Linked DNA regions of Homo sapiens: all the other regions are linked to region 3. Evidence: promoter capture Hi-C in 16 types of primary human blood cells and fetal thymus (Javierre and others, 2016). All regions are on one chromosome and are shown on one strand. Each heading gives the region's core, a stretch centred on a gene start or on the middle of the fragment in contact. The rest is flanking DNA. Distances are from core to core; before and after follow the strand shown. Region 1 overlaps PPARG (peroxisome proliferator activated receptor gamma). Region 2 overlaps PPARG (peroxisome proliferator activated receptor gamma). Region 3 holds the start of TIMP4 (TIMP metallopeptidase inhibitor 4).

The links. Contacts are between HindIII fragments. The CHiCAGO score rates a contact against its expected background, and 5 or more counts as called.
Region 1: a contact is called between a fragment that was not itself captured here and the fragment with the promoter of TIMP4 in region 3, in 1 of 17 cell types (M2 macrophages). The highest score is 5.2, in M2 macrophages.
Region 2: a fragment that was not itself captured here is called in contact with the fragment with the promoter of TIMP4 in region 3 in 3 of 17 cell types (M1 macrophages, monocytes and M2 macrophages); the score reaches 5.5 in M1 macrophages.

The regions. Positions count from the first base shown.
Region 1 is chr3:12,365,510-12,368,554 of GRCh38, reverse strand. The region is part of intron 2 of PPARG (peroxisome proliferator activated receptor gamma); the gene reads right to left. Among named protein-coding and RNA genes, the nearest start is that of PPARG, 78 kb to the right of the region's middle. The HindIII fragment of the contact is 851 bases long and covers 1,169-2,019 here.
Region 2 is chr3:12,395,750-12,398,798 of GRCh38, reverse strand. All of the region lies in intron 5 of PPARG (peroxisome proliferator activated receptor gamma), which reads right to left. Among named protein-coding and RNA genes, the nearest start is that of TSEN2, 87 kb to the left of the region's middle. The HindIII fragment of the contact is 6,825 bases long and covers 1-3,049 here.
Region 3 is chr3:12,157,587-12,160,657 of GRCh38, reverse strand. It overlaps TIMP4 (TIMP metallopeptidase inhibitor 4), which reads left to right and starts at 1,746. Exons shown (of 5, transcript NM_003256.4): 1 at 1,746-1,956. The coding sequence starts at 1,818. All of the region lies in intron 5 of SYN2 (synapsin II), which reads right to left. The HindIII fragment of the contact is 8,121 bases long and covers 1-3,071 here.

The DNA.
Region 1 (3,045 bases), core at 345-2,844, 210 kb before region 3:
TTAAATTCTGTCATGGTTTCTCTGAATATAGAATCTTTTATTTTGGGCACCATGAATTAAGAAAATGATTAGAGGCTGGGCGTGGTGGCTCACGTTTGTAATCCCAGCACTTTGGGAAGACAAGGTGGGAGGATCACCTGAGGTCAGGAGTTCGAGACCAGCCTGGCCTACATGGTGAAACCCTGTCTCTACCAAAAATACAAAAATTAGCCGGGCGTGGTGGCGCAGGCCTGTAGTCCCAGCTACTTGGGAGACTGAGGCAGGAGAATCACTTGAACTCGGGAGATGGAGGTTGCAGTGAGCCGAGTTCATGCCAGTGCACTCCAGCCTGGGCAACAGAGAGAGACACTGTCTGAAAAAAAAACAAAAAAGAAAAAGAAAAAAATGAAAACTATTAGAAATTAACTATTTGGTGTGTCATTTGCTTCTTCAATATAAACAAATGTATTTTCATTTTATTGTCTACTTAGACTATATTCAAAACCAAATTCAATGTTTCTGAAGTTTGATTTCCCATTGATAGCTTTGAGATTGAAACATTCCAATATGTATCTTTAGATGCAAATTTCTTTATAATAAGCCAGAAGGTCTCACAGGAAATTTTCAAATTCAGATCAACAAAGGGTATTAGAAAGACCATGTTTTTTATTATATTTTATTTAATTTTACTATTATTTTTTGAGGCAGGGTCTCACTCTGTCATGCAGGCTGGAGTGCAGTGGCACAATTATGGTTCACTGAAGCCTCGACCTCCCTGTGCTGAAGTGATCCTTCCACTTCAGCCTTCCAAGTAGCTGGGACCACAGGCATTCACCACCACATTCATCTAATTTTTTTATTTTTATTTTTTTATTTTTATTTTTTTTTTTGTAGAGGCAAGGTATCATTATGTTGCCCAGGCTATTCTCAAACTCCCGGACTCAAGCAATCCTCCCGCCTCAGCCTCCCAAAGTGTTGGGATTACAGGCATGAGTCACTATGCTTGGCCCATGTTCATTTTCAAAAGCATATTTCCTCTTGCATGAGCCACATCTTGTCTAGGGAGTTTGCTTACGCTGGTCCTGAGGTATCAGGACACAGAAAAGATTACAGGATTATGCCCTCACCAATATAAACATTTCTTCTGCTTCCTCAGCAAAAATTCATTATGGTCAAACTAGCTCAAGCTTGGTTCCTCTGCTAAAAGTACCTTCATATATTTCTAAAGGGAGATATTACTAATAATCTGATTAGGACTAAGGCTAAATCTGTTGAACAGTTGCTTTGGTTTAGTTGAAATTCTACTTTGTCTAGTACGTGAAGAATGAATGAAAGTTATTCAGAAATGAAAGAGGGGTATCATTACAGATCTCATTGACATTAAAGGATAATAGGCTCTATGCTCACAAATTTGATAATCTAGGTGAAATGAACTCATTCCTTGAAAGACATAATTTTCCAAAACTCATACAAGATGAAATAGAGAAATGGAATAGGCCTACATTTATTAATGAAATTGAATCAATAACTAATAACCTTCTGAAACAGAAGGCACCGGACTGGGTTCACTGGTGAATTCTACCAAACATTTAAGGAAGAAATTATACCAATTCTCTGAAATCTCTTTCAGAATATAAAAGCAGAGGGAATACTTCCTAACTCATTCAATGAGGCTAGAATTACCCTAATACTAAAACAAAACAGACATTACAAGGAAAATAAACCCTATAGACCAATCTCTCATGGACAGACATGCAGAAATCTTTAACAAAATATCAGCAAATTGAATCCGATAATGTATGAAAAGAATTATACACCATGGCCAAGTGAGATTTAGCTAAGGTATGTGGGGTTGGTTCAACATTAGAAAACAAATTAATGTAATCCATCACACCCATAGCCTAAAGAAGAAAAATCACATGATCATATCAATAAATGCAGAAAAAGAATTTGACAAAATAAGAAAACTTCCTAAACTTAGGAACATCTACAAACAAAACATATAGTTAACATCATAAGTAATGGTGAGAAACTCAAGCTTTCCCACTAAGATTAGGAATAAGGCAAGGATATCTTCTCTCACTACTGCTTTTCAACATCATACTAGAAGTCTTAGCTAACGTAACAAGACAAGAAAAGGAAATAAAAGGGATACAGATTGGGAAGGTAAAAATAAAACTGTCTTTGTTTGCAAATGACATGACTTCTACATAAAAAAATCCAAAAGAACAGAAAAAAAAAAAATCTCCTGGACCTAGTAAGTGATTATAGCAAGGTTGCAGGATACAAGGTTAATATACAAAAGTCATAATGCTTTCCTATATACCAGCAATGAACAAGCGAAATTTAATATTAAAAACACATTACCCCCAAACAGACATTACATTTTCCTCATAATGTCTGTTTTGTTTTACATTAGCACCCCGAAAAGTAAAATACTTAAGTATAAATTTAATAAAATATATATGAAACCTATATAGGAAAACTACAAAACTCTGATGAAAGATATCAAAGAATGAAATAAATGGAGAGACACTGCATGCTCATGGATAGGAAGACTCAGTATTGTCAAGATGTCATTCATCCCAACTTGATCTATAGATTCAATGCAATCACAATAACAATCCCAGCAAGTTATTTTGTGGATATTGGCAAACTGGTTCTGCAGTTTATATGGAGAAGCAAAAGACCCGTAATAGCCAACTCAATATTAAAGAAGAAGAATAAAGTCGAAGGACTGACATTACCTGACTTCAAGCCTTACTAGAAAGTTAAAGTAATTAAGATAGTACGGTACTGGCAAAAGAATAGACAAATAGATCAAAGGAACAGAATACAGAGCCCAGAAATAGGACCACATAAATGTAGTCAGCTGATCTTTGATGAAGAAACCAGGGTAATACACTGGAGCAAAGACAGTCTTTTCAACAACTGGGACTGGAGCAACTGGACATCCACATGCAAAAAAATATAATAATAACAATAATAATAATAATAATTTAGACACAGAGCTTATTCTCTTCATAAAAATTAACTCAAAATGGAACATAGATCTAAATGTAAAGT
Region 2 (3,049 bases), core at 35-2,534, 240 kb before region 3:
CAGAACTAATGGCCTCTTCTAAGTTCTCAATAGACTTGAGCTCTTCAGTATTCTCCCAGCCTTTAATTCTGGTGACCATCTCCGCCCTCTTATTTCCAAAATTTCTTGTCCTGGTTCCTGCTGTTCTGGGTCCTCTAACATTCTGCCAGCTGCTCTCCAGATCTCTCTGATGGTGCCTCTCCCTTAGCTTGTATTCTGTGGTCCCTAGTGTGACCTCTCTAACCTACAATGGGTGCTGATGATTCCTGCTCTCTCTTCACTGAAATTTGGAGCCTTATTTTTCACATCCTCCTATATTCCTCTATACGTAGTTGCTGGATACTCTATAGGCATCTCTAACACAATATAAAACTGAATTTAAAATTTTCTCCTCCAAACTGGCTCTTATTCCTGTGTTCCTCTCTTGGTTAATTCATTCTATCACCCAAATTAGATATCCTAAATAATCTTTGACAACTTCTCTCCCTTCAGGCGCTTTTATTCATTGGTCACTGCTCTGATATTTCTCTCAATTTCCTTTCTTCTCACCCTTCTCAATGTCTTATTTCCTAATATTGCATTGGTCTTCAGATGGATTTCCCAATTCCAGTCTTTTCTCTATCATTTTTACTGCTATCGGTATTTTTTTTTTTTTGGTAATATGTATCTGATCACTCTCTTGCTTTTTAAGGCAGAATGTGATATCACAGGAAGGTATGAAACACATAGAAAAGGAAGAGCAGGGAATCAGAAAAGTCTCATGGGAAGGAAGGCATTTGAATGCAGCCTTGAATGTCAGGAAGAATTTCCACAAGGAACAGACAGACGCATCAACAGAGGCCCAGAGGTATCCAAGCATAAGCCATTTTCCAGGAACAGCAAAATGCAGGGTTTGCCTGAGGTGTGAGTGGAAAGTGGGCAGGGGTGGGGAGAGGAGGTGGGCTCCAACATGGGCGGTTCTGGAGTCCACGCAGGGTAGAGGGACAGGGCAGCTGGAGCAAACATGTACTGCCACATGCATTAGGAGTTTGTTACCTTTTCTGAAAGTTAAGATTTGGGTAATTTTTCTTTACACAACCAAGAAGACTAAAGAAAAAAAAGGAATAGGTTAGCCAGACGCGGTGGCTCACGCCTGTAATCCCAGCACTTTGAGAGGCTGAGGTGGGCAGATCATGAGGTCAGGAGATCGCGACCATCCTGGCTAACACGGTGAAACCCCGTCTCTACTAAAAATACAAAAAATTAGCCGGGCATGGTGGCAGGCGCCTGTAGTCCCAGCTACTCAGGAGGGTGAGGCAGGAGAATGGTGTGAATCCGGGAGGTGGAGCTTGCAGTGAGCCTAGATCGCGCCACTGCACTCCAGCCTGGGCAACAGAGCGAGACTTTGTCTCAATAATAATAATAATAATAATAATAATAATAATAATAATAATAATAATAAAAAGGAATAGGTTAAAGTTGAAATCTAGTATTTGCCATTCAGAATTTTTCCTTTTCTCAATATACACTAGAGCTGCTGTTTGCAAGGCACTGAGAGAACTACCTTAAAAATGTTGAGTGTCACAAAAATTTGTGAAATCTTTTTTTCTGGATTTTTATGAAGCCACTGAGAAACTATTTTGAAAGTTGTCAGTTTTTTTTAAAAAATTACAAACTCTCTCTCATTTATATAATAAGACATCCTAGTCAGCAAAGCTAAGATTTCAATAGTTTTTAAATTTATGAAAAACATATTTTTAACCAAATCTCAATGTTATAGAGAAAACCTAACTGAATGATTCATAAATAACATGTCAATTCTTCTCTAGATTATTTTCTTAAATAGGTCAGGTGCAGTGGCACATGCCTATAGTTTCAGCAACTCCAGATGCTGAGGTGAGCCCAGCCTAAGCAACACAGGGAGACTCCATCTCTAAAAATAGTAATAATAAATACAGAAAATTTTAAAAATAAAAAGGGCACTTAGCCTAAACTTACTATTTTATTATTTAGTTCATACATTAAAAAGAGCTCTGAATATGAATTATTCACTAGTCACAATTCTTTTTTTTTTTTTTTTTTTGAGACTGGGTCTTGCTCTGTTACCCAGACTGGAGTGCAGTGGTGCAATCATGGCTCACTGCAACTTCCACCCCCTGGGCTAAAGCGATCTTCCCACTCCAGACTCCCGAGTAGCTGAAACCACAGGCACAAGCCATCACGCCCGACTAATTTTTTGTAGTTTTAGTAGATATGGAGTCTTGTCATGTTTCCCAGGCTGGTCTCGAACTCCTCAGCTCAAGTGGTCCTCTGACCTCGGCCTCCCAAAGTGCTGGGATTATAGGCATGAGCCACCATGCCTGGCCCACAAGCCAAAATTCTTAATGACTAAATAATTTTATTAAAAATAAAGAGGACAAGGCCAGTGTGGTAGCTCACGCCTGTAATCCTAGCACTTTGGGAGGCTGAGGTGGGTGGATCACCTGAGGTCAGGAGTTCGAGACCATCTTGGCCAACATGGTGAAGCCCCATCTTTACTAAAAATACAAAAATCAGCTGGGTATGGTTTCGGGCACCTGTAATCCCAGCTACTCAGGAGGCTAAGGCAGGAGAATTGCTTGAACCTGGGAGGCGGAGGTTGCAGTGAGCCAAGATTGTACCATTGTACTCCAGACTGGGCGACAGAGCGAGACTCCATCTCAAAAAAAAATAATAATAAAAAATAAAGAAGACATATTTTTAAAATGCAATTACTATAAAGGACTTGGCAGCAGGATTTTAAAACAAAAATGACTACTTTGAAAATCTATAAAAATGCATGCAAGAGCCCATTTGACTAAAGAAGCAACATTATCCATGAGTCTTTTTATCAAGATTCTGCAGACACCAGCTTCACTAACAAAGAGTAGTTGATGCAATGATCACTTGGTAAGTTACATACACCGCTGAGTGGCCTAGGAAGTGGGTCTGTATTTCTGCTTCATTTTCATTTTGAGCTTTCCTCTAAGGGCAGTGTCTAGACACAGTAGTGAATTGATTGTGCTTGAGATGACTCAGGAAGGCTTCTGAGCAATCGGTGGAATTAACCCAT
Region 3 (3,071 bases), core at 497-2,996:
AGAGATCAGATGGGATGCTTTCTGAGCTCCCTTCAAATAGTACATCAGCCTCTATCTTGGTCTGAACATTGTATGAAGAACCAGCCTGGATGCTAACCCGGGCATTTCATCTTTCAGTCAGACTCAGCTCTCTTTCAATTCCCTTCTTTTCAAATATCACTAACACCATCAAAATGAAAAGGTATCCTTTGAAGGAAATAATGTTGACCCTGATGAAAAGTCAGACTCCTATGGGAACTAAGATTTGAACAGATACTGGGGGTATCTGGCCTGAGGATCTCAGCATTCCTGGTTGAGGCCAGCCAAGGATGGGAAGAAGAACTTCAAAGGGCTTTAGAAATCACGTAGTTCAACTCTACTTTATGAAGAAAAAACTGAGGCCCAGAGAGGCAAAAGTCACAAAGCTACAGTGACAGTCAGAATTGGAACCCAGCCTCCCACTATCCAGTCCAGCACCATGTGGAAACATCCCACAGCAATAATCCCATGGAGATTTGGGATTTGGAGGCTTGCAACACTGTGCCCAAACAGCAGACAAGGCTCTGGTCACAGTCACCCCCAAGTCCCCTGCTTCTTTGTTTTTTCTTTTACTTTTTTTTTTTTTTTTTTTTTTTTGAGACGGAGTCTCACTCTGTCGCCCAGACTGGAGTGCAGTGGCACAGTCTCAGCTCACTTCAACCTCCGCCTCCTGGGTTCAAGCCATTCTCTTGCCTCAGCCTCCTGAGTACCTGGGACTACAGGTGTAGGCCACCACGCCCGGCTAACTTTTGTATTTTTAGTAGGGACGGAGTTTCATCATGATGGCTAGGGTGATCTCGAACTCCTGACCTCAGGTGATCAACCCGCCTTGGCTTCCCAAAGTGCTGAGATTACAGGCGTGAGCCACCACGCCCAGCCTGCTTCTTTGTTTTCTAAGCTGTCCCACCTTCTAGAACATGACAGAGTCTCCAGTGAGAAGGGACATGCAATAAAAATCAATGTAGTCTAGGGCCTCGAGAGGGCTTTGAGGTCCAAGGTTTGCCCTAAGTGATGGGACACTTTGTGTTTTGTACACCAAGAGCGCTGTCTCCAGCTATCTGGAGAGTCTGAGGCTCTGGGAGTGAGAAAGGGTTTCTAAAGCACTGGCTGCTTCTTTGACATCTCTCCCCACCCCCCAGGCAACAGAGCCAAGACACACACACCCCAACTTTCTCTGTCCTGTTCTATTACTGTTTGCTGTTGCTTTGGAGCCTCATAAATAGGGCATTGAAAGCACTTCCTGCAGCTGAAAGAAGCCCTGAGTAGCTCGTCTCATTCCCAGCGTGCAGCTCAGCAAGGGGTCCGTCCTTCTCTGTCACTGTCTCTTTTGCCTGTTGTAATTCTGTCTGCCTCTCTGGGACTCTGCCTGTCTCACTCTTTCTGTCTGTGCCTCTCCTCACTCTTGTTCTTTCTGCCTGAATCACAGCCCTCAGTTTTTCTGTCCTCATGCATTTGTCTTTGTGGCTCTTTCCGTCTTTCTGCCCTTGACACCATCCCCTCTCCCAGTGCTTCCCCTCTGCTTCCAGATCGCTTCATGACTTAGGCAGGGAAACAGAGGTCAGGGCCTCCTTCCAGGCTTCCCTCTGCATCTTACTGAGTATGCAGGTCGGAAGAGCCTCGGGTCCTGCCTCCGCGGGTGGCCTAGAGCCAAAGGAAGGCGGAGCCCGTCGGGGCGGGATTGGCCCTTAGGGCCACCTCATAAAGCCTGGGGCGAGGGGCACAACGGCCTTGGGAAGGAGCCCTGCTGGGGCCGTCCAGTCCCCCAGACCTCACAGGCTCAGTCGCGGATCTGCAGTGTCATGCCTGGGAGCCCTCGGCCCGCGCCAAGCTGGGTGCTGTTGCTGCGGCTGCTGGCGTTGCTGCGGCCCCCGGGGCTGGGTGAGGCATGCAGCTGCGCCCCGGCGCACCCTCAGCAGCACATCTGCCACTCGGCACTTGGTGAGTCCGAGGTCCGCGAGGTCCACAGCAGGGGGTGGTTGTGGGGGATTAGTATCTGGCCAGCAGTACACCAGGAGTCCAGAGGAAAAGGGAGGAGCTCAAATTCTTACCGGTTGTCTCTTGCTGAGGCTGATGGGTGGAGAAGGACCAGGCGCCATAGCAACCTTGCAAGCCCAGAACCTGACTGATTCATAAGGAAATGAAGATTTCATCAGGGACTTCCATAGCGACCTCCCTCACTCCGGCCATACTGCAATTATGGAGTGTCATTACACAAGGTGTCACCGGAGCTATCTGATGATTATTCTGAACTACTAGACTGGGGACAGAAAGGGGAGGGGAGAGGGCTTGCATTGTAACTACCCGTGTCTGTCCAGGCCTATAACTGAGGTTGCCACCAAGCCCCTATGGCAACACACACGTTCTGTCCTTTCTCTTCCCTCTGCCTGGAATGCCCTCCCTCACACCCTTAAATTCCTGGCAGACTCCTACTCATCCTTCAAGGGCTAACTTAGGTCTCTCCCCTTCTCTGCAGGCTCCCGGGCTCCTTGGTGCCGCCTCAGCATCTCTAACCGTCTTAGCGCTCCTACTATGCTGTGCTGTTGTTCTTTACACGTGTGCACTCCACTAGATCAAGAGCTCGGCAGGATGGGGACCCTGTCTTAATCACATCTATGGGCCTAGTGCCTAGTGCAAGGCCAGGCACAGAGGAAGAACATCATCAACAGTTTTTGGTTATTAATGCTCAAATGGCAAGAGATGCAATACCTCAGTGCAGGGTCAGAACATTTATGAATTCAATAAACATTTACTAATATCAACTGTAGGCGGGATGAGAGGCCTTGACCACAGCAATAGATAAACTTCACACCGACTGCCCTGAAGGGGCTCCTCCTCCCTTCTCTACTCTGACTCCTACCCTGTGCCCCACTGCACAAACGGCTATGGAGAACTAGAGCTCTCCAGACTAACTGGTTCAAAAGGCAGAAACAGCTTAGCGGTTATAGGACCTAATAAGCCTGAGGGGTTTGGAACTTCCAGTGACTGCAGGGGAGGTGTTTCCAGGTCCCCCTTCTCACACATCACGTTGCTCACAACCCAGCCACACCAAAACC